Linked DNA regions of Homo sapiens: all the other regions are linked to region 1. The links are contacts of gene promoters, found by promoter capture Hi-C in blood cells and fetal thymus (Javierre and others, 2016). All regions are on one chromosome and are shown on one strand. The core of a region is centred on a gene start or on the middle of the fragment in contact, and the rest is flanking DNA. Distances in the headings are between cores, read along the strand shown. Region 1 holds the start of GLG1 (golgi glycoprotein 1). Region 2 overlaps TMEM170A (transmembrane protein 170A). Region 3 overlaps CHST6 (carbohydrate sulfotransferase 6).

Evidence for each region. The method cuts DNA at HindIII sites, captures the fragments that hold promoters and counts their contacts. A CHiCAGO score of 5 or more calls a contact.
Region 2: a contact is called between a fragment that was not itself captured here and the fragment with the promoter of GLG1 in region 1, in 1 of 17 cell types (activated CD4 T cells). The highest score is 7.3, in activated CD4 T cells.
Region 3: a contact is called between a fragment that was not itself captured here and the fragment with the promoter of GLG1 in region 1, in 1 of 17 cell types (neutrophils). The highest score is 6.9, in neutrophils.

What each region holds. Positions count from the first base shown.
Region 1 is chr16:74,605,683-74,608,616 of GRCh38, forward strand. It overlaps GLG1 (golgi glycoprotein 1), which reads right to left and starts at 1,432. Exons shown (of 26, transcript NM_001145667.2): 1 at 975-1,432. The coding sequence starts at 1,412. RefSeq lists silencers at 1,003-1,182, 1,413-1,602. The HindIII fragment of the contact is 13,128 bases long and covers 398-2,934 here.
Region 2 is chr16:75,452,278-75,455,058 of GRCh38, forward strand. The region is part of intron 1 of TMEM170A (transmembrane protein 170A); the gene reads right to left. Among named protein-coding and RNA genes, the nearest start is that of TMEM170A, 11 kb to the right of the region's middle. The HindIII fragment of the contact is 4,371 bases long and covers 1-2,781 here.
Region 3 is chr16:75,472,658-75,475,357 of GRCh38, forward strand. It overlaps CHST6 (carbohydrate sulfotransferase 6), which reads right to left. Exons shown (of 3, transcript NM_021615.5): 3 at 1-2,700. Among named protein-coding and RNA genes, the nearest start is that of TMEM170A, 9.3 kb to the left of the region's middle. The HindIII fragment of the contact is 3,555 bases long and covers 1-2,700 here.

The DNA.
Region 1 (2,934 bases), core at 182-2,681:
ATTTCTACAAGCAAGTGGTCTTGCTATAGCTTGAACGCCTTAAACAAATCTGATATTTAAAAAAAAAACCAAAAACAGTATCAAGTGGTAGCTTCATTCTATTTGTCCACCTTTAGGGCTAATTTTATATACCTACACCTCTGGAAAAAGTTACTACTGTCAGATTTGCTCCCAAACTTTGAGAATTGTCATTATGGTCTGCAGCATTAAACCTAGATTATAAATTATCAATGTCACTTGATTATAAATTATCAATGTCACTCAACTGAATCACACCAAGCAACGACAAATGTAGATTTCATTAAGAGATACTGTTAAAATCACATTCAGACCTCAGAAAGGCAAGATCCCATAACCCAGTCACAAACACAGCTTCAAACGCTTCCCCAACTTTTCAAGCTTTGGGGCGCCAAGTCACTGGGAGTTAACAGCTTAAACATGGGGTTCAATACAACTGACCAAAGGAAGTGAAGAAAACAAAGCATACATTAATTTCAGCACCAAAAATATGGATTTGCGAATTACATCTACTGCTAATAAACAGATCATTCTTTACAGCCTAAGTACGCCAGGCATTTTTTTATGTTTAAATGGCTTGCCACAAATTGTCCTAGTCGAAACTGATGGCAAAATCCTAAACTGATCTTCGGCGAGGAGACACTCTGCATAGAGCATCACACAAAAGACAGGAGCGAACAGACACGCTCTGGGCCTCGGCGGATTGCGGCCAGGAGCCCAGGTTTTCGTCCCAGACCCCGGCAACAGGGAGGGAAATAAGGGCGGGGGAAAGAAGGAGTGGGAGTGGTATCCTTTTCCCTGAAAGCGCCTGGGAGTGAGGAGCAAAGAGGGAAGGAGCGAGTGCAGCACAGAGGAAGCAAGGAAAGCAGCCGACCGGCGTCAGCGGCTTCCAAGGCCGGCAACACCCTCGGGCCCGCACCAGGCCTGGCCCTCCCGGCTTCGTCCCACCTCCTCACCTCCCTCACATCCTGCAGGCACTCGAGCACCGCCAGGTTGTTGCTCCAGGTGTGCTTAGGGCACACGCGGGTCACGTCCTCCCTGCAGGACTCTTCCTCCGCCAGCTTCCAGCCCCCACCAGCCCCCGCTCCTCCCCGCCGGGCCGGAGGCCCACCCGCCGGGAAAGGCGGCTGCGGCGGCTGAGGCTGCTGTTGCTGTTGCTGCTGCTGCTGTTGCTGCTGAAGCTGCGATGACTGAGGCAGCTGGGGCAGCTGCTGACCCGCCGGGCCGCCGCCTCCGGCCTGCCCTACGAAGGACACAAAGTTGGCCCCGGGACCCTGGCCCTGGCTGTGGACGCCCTGGCCGGGGAGTTTCTCGGCCCCGGCCGCGAATAGCAGCAGCAGATGCAGCGCCGCCGACAAGCGGAACATCCTCCGTACACGTCCACACGCCGCCATCTTGAGTCCGCGGCGAGCTCGACGCACTCGCCGGCGCCGCGTATTTAAATGAGGGGGTGGAGACGCTGGGCGTGGCAGCGTGGCCCTGCCGAGCCCCGCCCCGCCGGCGCCGACCCGCGAACCCAGAGTGGGGCGAAGGAGGAGGCCGTGCTGGAAACCGCACACACCCTGGACCGGCGGGCGGGAGAGCGGCGCTCCTTACCCGGGGGGGTTGCTGGGGTTTCTTAAAAAGCCCGGGCAGGGCGGCCTACTCTAATTCCATTTGCTGTCACAAAAAAAAAAATCAAGGGAATTGGGGTTGCCACAACCAAAATGGCCGGTAGAATATGTCGCCGGTTCAATGACTTGGAAAACAAAAACTTTATATGTAGAGGTGAACTTTGCACAACCAGGTGTATTACGGAATCGGAAAGCCTCTCCTTGTATCGCTCCCTCCTTCCTTCCTTCCTTCCATCTGCCTCAGAAGTCTTTCTTAGCCAAAGAGAGAGACAGCATTGAATAGGGTTAAGAGCATAAGTTCTGGGGTAAGAAAAAAAATTAAGGTTATAATCCTTGCTCTGGCAGGGTACGCAAGAGCTCAAATGTAAAGTACCATTGGCAAGATTCGAAATAATAATTTAAGTGCCTGGCCCACAACACTGAACTCAAAAAGTCACAGCCAGTATTGTTAATAAACTGGGAAGCCGTTTATGCATGAATCCTGATTTTAAGCCAGCATTTAGATTCATGTTTAAAGGATGAAAAAATAATAATAAAACACATCTTTGAGGACTCGGGTTAAGTCTGTGTGTCGGTAACTGTTCTCATTGACCTGCATGCAACACCGCAGGCACCCCACACTAGCATCCCCTCCCTGTCCTTAGGAGAGAGGATATGTTCCCAAAGCCTCTTCACATCCGCTGTGTAATCTGAGCCATGCATCAGGCCTGCGTTAGGTTCTCATTTAACTGAAGAATGGCACAGAGATGTTAACAGTTCTGCGTGGAGGGATTAAATGAGCTGCCCAAGAGGAACTCTGCCATCCTGTAGACAGCTAGGCTAGCCACCAGAATCCCTGGGGCTTCCCACCACCCTGGCGCACTTTCATCCCACTCTGTCCATGCACATGTTGGGGAATGAGGGCAGTTTGGGTTGTGTAATCTCCACTGGTCATTGTGTCCAAAAATGCGAATTACATCTACTGTAGTAAACAGACAGCTTCTGCTGTCCTGACCCGCAAATGAGCAGTCAAGACCAAGTTAGACATAACTAGAACCTGAAAAGTCAGGAGCTCAGGGAACCCAAAAGGAGCTCCTGAGACTGAAGATATTCTGTGAGTACAAATTACCCACTGTGGCTGACCCCAGGCCTCTATCATGGGGAATGAGAGCTTGTTGGCATCTCCACCAACGGTCACCTTTGCTACTGTCATAAAATGATCATGAGGCTGCTGCTAACCTTGAGCACTGACTAAGGCAGCCCCATGTTTATTAGCAAACACATGGCATAGGTAAGTTTCAGTCAGGCAGGCTGGACACATCAC
Region 2 (2,781 bases), core at 92-2,591, 850 kb after region 1:
TTATTTTTAAAGACGGGGTCTCACTCCGTCACCCAGGCTGCAGTGCAATGGCACCATCATGGCTCACTGCAGCCTTGACCTCCTAGGTCTGGGTGTTCTCCCGCCTCAGCCTCCGGAGTGGCTGGAACTACAGATGTGTGCTACCACGCCTGGCAAAATTCTTTTTTTTTTAATTTTCTTTTTTTATGAGACAGGGTCTCACTACTCTGTTGCCCAGGATGGAGTGCAGTGGGAGTTTCGCCAGGCTGGTCTCAAACTCCCAACCTCAGGTGATCTGCCCGCCTTGGCCTCCCAAAGTGCTAGGATAACAGGCATGAGCCACTGCGCTTGGCCTGTATTTTCTTTAGAGATGGGGTCTCACCGTGTTGCCCAGGCTGGTCTTGAATGCCTCGGCTCAAACAATCCGCCCAACTTGGCCTCCTAAAGGGCAGGGATTACAGGTGTGAGGCCACCGCACCCGGCCTTCAACATCATTTACTTGCAAAGTAGGGTTCATCAGTCAAATATCCAAATATTGACGGTTTTAGTGTGTTCAACAAATTACTGCCTACAGACCCACCACCTGTTTTTTACACACTTATCTGAACCCATTCATAATACTTTTATACATACACACTTATCTGAAACCATTTACAAGAGTTTTGCACACACATACTTATTCAACCCATGCCCTTTCATTTAAGTATTGTTTATGGCTGCCTTCCAGCTTCAAGGGCAAAGCTGATAACAGTGACACAGACCACATGACCCATAAAGCCTAACATATTTACTATCTGGCCCTTCACAGAAAAAGCTGACCAATCTCTGTACCCTCAAACTGAAAAAAAAGGTTCATCTAGATTTCAAAATTGACCTAAATAATGTCCCCGACCATAACTGGGCACGGCAGCTCACGACTGTAATCCCAACACTTCAGGTGGCCAAGGTGGGCAGGTCGCTTGAGCCCAGGAGTTTGAGACTAGCTTGGGCAATACAGCGAAACCCTGTCTCTACAAAAAATACAAAAATTAGCCTGGCATGGTATTGCATACCTGTAGTCCTAGCTACTCGAGAGGCTGAGGTGGGAGGATTGCTTGAGCCTGGGAGGCAGAGGTTGCAGTAAGTCAAGATCATGCTACTGCACTCCTGCCTGGGCAACAGGGTGAGACGGTCTCAAAAAACTCCCCCAAAAACCAAAAAACCCAAACAAAAATAATTCCCCCATAAGAGGCACAAGCCAAAGAGCCAATTGATACGGTACTATGCAATCAATGCCTGTTGATCTTTCCTGACCTTTTGATCACTCAGTCTTCTAAAATGGACAGCTATACAATTATATTCATTCCACAATCATTTGAAAGACAATGCAGTAAATATCAAGCCATCACCTCCTATTAGGATTTCAAAGCTCTTTAGGATATGAAATAAATACCAGAAAATATAAATGTTTGGCTTGAAGACAAATGGCAGGTAAACAACAGTGCAGGTTAGGAGAGCTGGCTCCTACAGAACTCTAATCACTCTTAAGGTGTCTGTAACTCAGGCAACATTAAGATACATATAATCATCAACTATGTATGAAAAACTATGCATGAGGCACCCATATAAAGAAAACAAAACCATCCTGCTGGAATGTGACTTTACAATTTGTTAAATGGCCCATGTAGCATTTCCCCCCAGTGAACCCAAGGCAAGGCCTTAGAATCCTCAAGGTAGCTCTCCAGCTACCCACAGGGAGGGACTGGCGGTGACACATTAGATAAAACCCACTGTCCATCCTTGGCTAGAGGCAGGTAAGTAGCAAGTGATTTTTGAGATCAGTGAAGAGCTTAGCTCAGCAGGGTTTCTTGACCACCGCCCTCCGCCCTATTGACATTTGGACCAGATAACTTTTCATTGTGGGGGCTGCACTGTGCACTGCAGGATATGGAGAGGCACCTCTGGCCTGCAGCACTCTATTCCCAGTTGTGTCAACCAAAAATATTTCCAGACATTGTCAAATGTCCCCAAGGGGGCAAAACTACCCTGATTAAAAACCACGGGCTTTACCAAAGCACAGAGGCTTTATAAGAGCCATGATGGCCGGGCGTGGTAGCTCACACCTGTAATCCCACCACTTTGGGAGGTCGAGGTGGGCTAATCACGAGGTCAGGAGTTCAAGACCAGCCTGGCCAACATAGTGAAACCCTGTCTCTCTAAAAATACACACACATACACACACACACAAAATTAGCCGGGCATGGTGGCAGGCACCTGTAGTCCCAGCTACTTGGGAGGCTGAGGCAGGAGAATCGCTTGAACCCAGGAGGCAGAGGTTGCAGTGAGCTCAGATCACACCACTGCACTCCAGCCTGGGAGACAGAATGACACTCCGTCTCAAAAAAATAAAAGAGCAATGACAGTTAAAGCTATAAAGACAGATGAGGGAAACCCTTTGGGGAATTTGACACCAGACTAAGGACTTCACAAAAGATCTAAAGTGCCAGTATAGGTTTTGAGCAGTAACGGTTGTCATGACATTATTCCACAGGCCCCACCTGACACTCCTAGTTGGAATACAAACTGGAAAACCACCTTTTTGCAGGGTAATTTGGAAGTCAAATGTGCATGGCCCTTGCTGCAACAATTTTACTTCCGGGGATACACCCCACAGAAAAGCATAGGTAGGCAAGGACAGAGGTAACAAGAAGGTCCCAACAGCATTGTCCATAATATCAAAAACTAGAAGTCACCTGCATGGCTATCACTGCAGAATTTGGAAAACACATTCTGTGCACCCACGTAATACTACAAAGTCCCATT
Region 3 (2,700 bases), core at 152-2,651, 870 kb after region 1:
GCACATCAAAGACAAAGCTAGGGGACACAGGGTCTGTGGTGGCCATGAGGAGTTGATACAGTGTTGATGTGGATAATATATCTTCTTGATGCAAAATAACAAAAATAAGGCCCACCATTGATTCCCCAACAGCCTCTTGATAGGTGGGTTCTCTGACCTATTCCAGGCAACACTGTTTCTATGCACCCATCAGCCCATCTAGTGCTTTGATTGCCCCTTCTGAGCTCCCACAGCCAGAGCAGAGGCAGCAAGCGTGCCTGCCCCTAATTGTGGGTGACTGCTGGGCCTAGACACTTCTAGCTGCATCACAGGGCCTACAGGTAAGGGGAGACACTAATTACAGCCCTACCAGCAGGGAGGGAGCCTGGACCCTGGTGGAAATTGGAAGCTGCAGGTGCCAGGAGCCCTCCGTTCTCAAGTGTATCGGTTAGGCAATGCTACGTAACAAACCACCACAACACTCAAATGACTGAAACACAATAAGCACTTTTATTGCTCCTAAAGTCTTCGACTTGGCCGCAGTGCTGGGCTCAGCTGGCCTCGCTCATATGTCTTTATAGCTACTCTTCTCAAGTGGTGGACTCAGTTTCCCCACCTCTGAATCTGGGTGAGCCCTGGGACTCCCTTTGGCCAGTAGAAGGTAGCCGAAGTGGCTGCGTGCGGATCAGCTGGAGCTGGCTGGTCTAGGATGGCCTGGTTTGGGACCCCTGAACTCTCCTTCTCATGGTCTCTGCTTGTCCAGCAGGCTGGCCTGGGCTTTCTCCCGGGCAGAGGCGGAGGTCCGAAGCAAAGGAGCAGCACGCAGGTTCTCTTCAGGTGGAGGAAAGCAGAGGCGTCAGCTCAGACTATGCCTTTTTCACATAAAAAATGATTTTCAGCTGAAGGCAATTAAGAAGCAGAAAGTGCAGGAAAAGTTCAGGTTTCCCTCCCCTTTTCTGCCTAAAGGCACGATATAAACTCTCCATCACTGGACACAACCCTTGACTCAGAGGTGGTACCAGAGGCTGCTGCAGACAAATCCTGTTGCATCAGCTTCCTCTCGGATATTTACCATCCCATAGTTTACCACCTTTGGAAGCCTAAAACTGTTGTCCTTGGTCATCCTATCTCTACAAATTTATTGTATTTTTTAAAAATGCTGTGTAAGACAGTGTTCCAAGCCATCACTTTGTTACTTTTCATTGAGGCTTATCCTGAGTGATGTTGGCTGCCTGTGTTAACAAACTGTTTTTCGCCAGGTACAGTGGCTCATGCCTGTAATCCTAGCACATTGGGAGGCCAAGGCAGGTGGATCACCTGAGGTCAGGAGTTCCAGCCCAGCCTGATCGACATGGTGAAACCCCATCTCTACTAAAAATACAAAAAAAATTAGCCGGGCGTGGTGGTGTACATCTGTAATCCCAGCTACTCGGGAGGCTGAGGCAGGAGAATCGCTTGAAACTGGGAGGCGGAGGTTGCAGTGAGCCAAGATGGCGCCACTGCACTCCAGCCTGGGGGACAAGAGCAAGACTCTGCCTCAAAAAAACAGAAACAAAAACATTGTTTTTCTTTGTGAATCTGTCTTTTCATTAAAAAGTCTCTCTTAATCTGTTTTGTTTTGCTATAACAATACCACAGATGGGGTCATTTATTTAGAGATAGGTGTCTTGCTCTGTCACTCAGGCTGGAGTGCACTGGCATGATCATGGTTCAATGTAGCCTCAACCTCCCAGGGTCAAGCAGTCCTCCCAACTCAGCCTCCCAAGTAGCTAGGACTACAGGTGCACGACACCATGCCCTGCTAATTTTTTTTTAACTTTGTAGAGATGGGGTCTCACTATGTTGCCCAGGCTGGTCTTGAGTGCCTGGTCTCAAGTGATCCTCCTGCCTCAGCCTTGCAAAGTATTGGGATTACAGGCGTGAGCCACTGAACCCAGCAAGGGTCATATATAATAAATAGAAGTGTATTGGCTTACAGTTCTGGAGGCTGGGAAGCCCAAGATCAAGGAGCCAGCATCTAGCGAGAGCCTTCTTGCTGTGTCCTAGCATGATGGAAGGCATCATATGGCAGAAGGGCAAAGTGAGGGCGAGAGAAAGACAAAGAATGAACTCCTTCATTTAAAAGGCACCACTCTCAGGATAACCAACTCACTCCTGAAATAATGGTGGTTTTTTTTAAGACAGACTCTCGCTTTGTTGCCCAGGCTGGAGTACAGTGGTGCGATCTCAGCTCACTGCAATCTCTGCCTCCTGGGTTCAAGCGATTCTCCTGTCTCAGCCTCCCAAGTAGCTGGCCTTACAGGCATGTGCCACCACACCTGGCTAATTTTTGTATTTTAACTAGAAATGGTGTTTTACCTTGTTGGCCAGGCTGGTCTCAAACTCCTGACCTCAAGTAATCCGCACACCTCAACCTCCCAAAATGCTGGGATTACAGACATGAGCTACCATGCCTGCGCCCAGAAATAATGTTCTCTACCCATTCACAAGGGCATAACCCGCACGGCGTAATTTACTTTCCATCAAGCCTCACCTCACAACACTGGGGATCAAGGTTCCAACTTTGGGAGACACAATCAAATCACAGCAGAGCCCCAGCTGAAAACCTAAGACAGGTGGAGGTAAAGTTTTGCTTCCAAGGCCTATGCTTCAAACTGGCTCACAGGAAGTTGCACTACACTTGTCTACAGGACAAAGCAAGTCACAGGACCAGCCTGGATT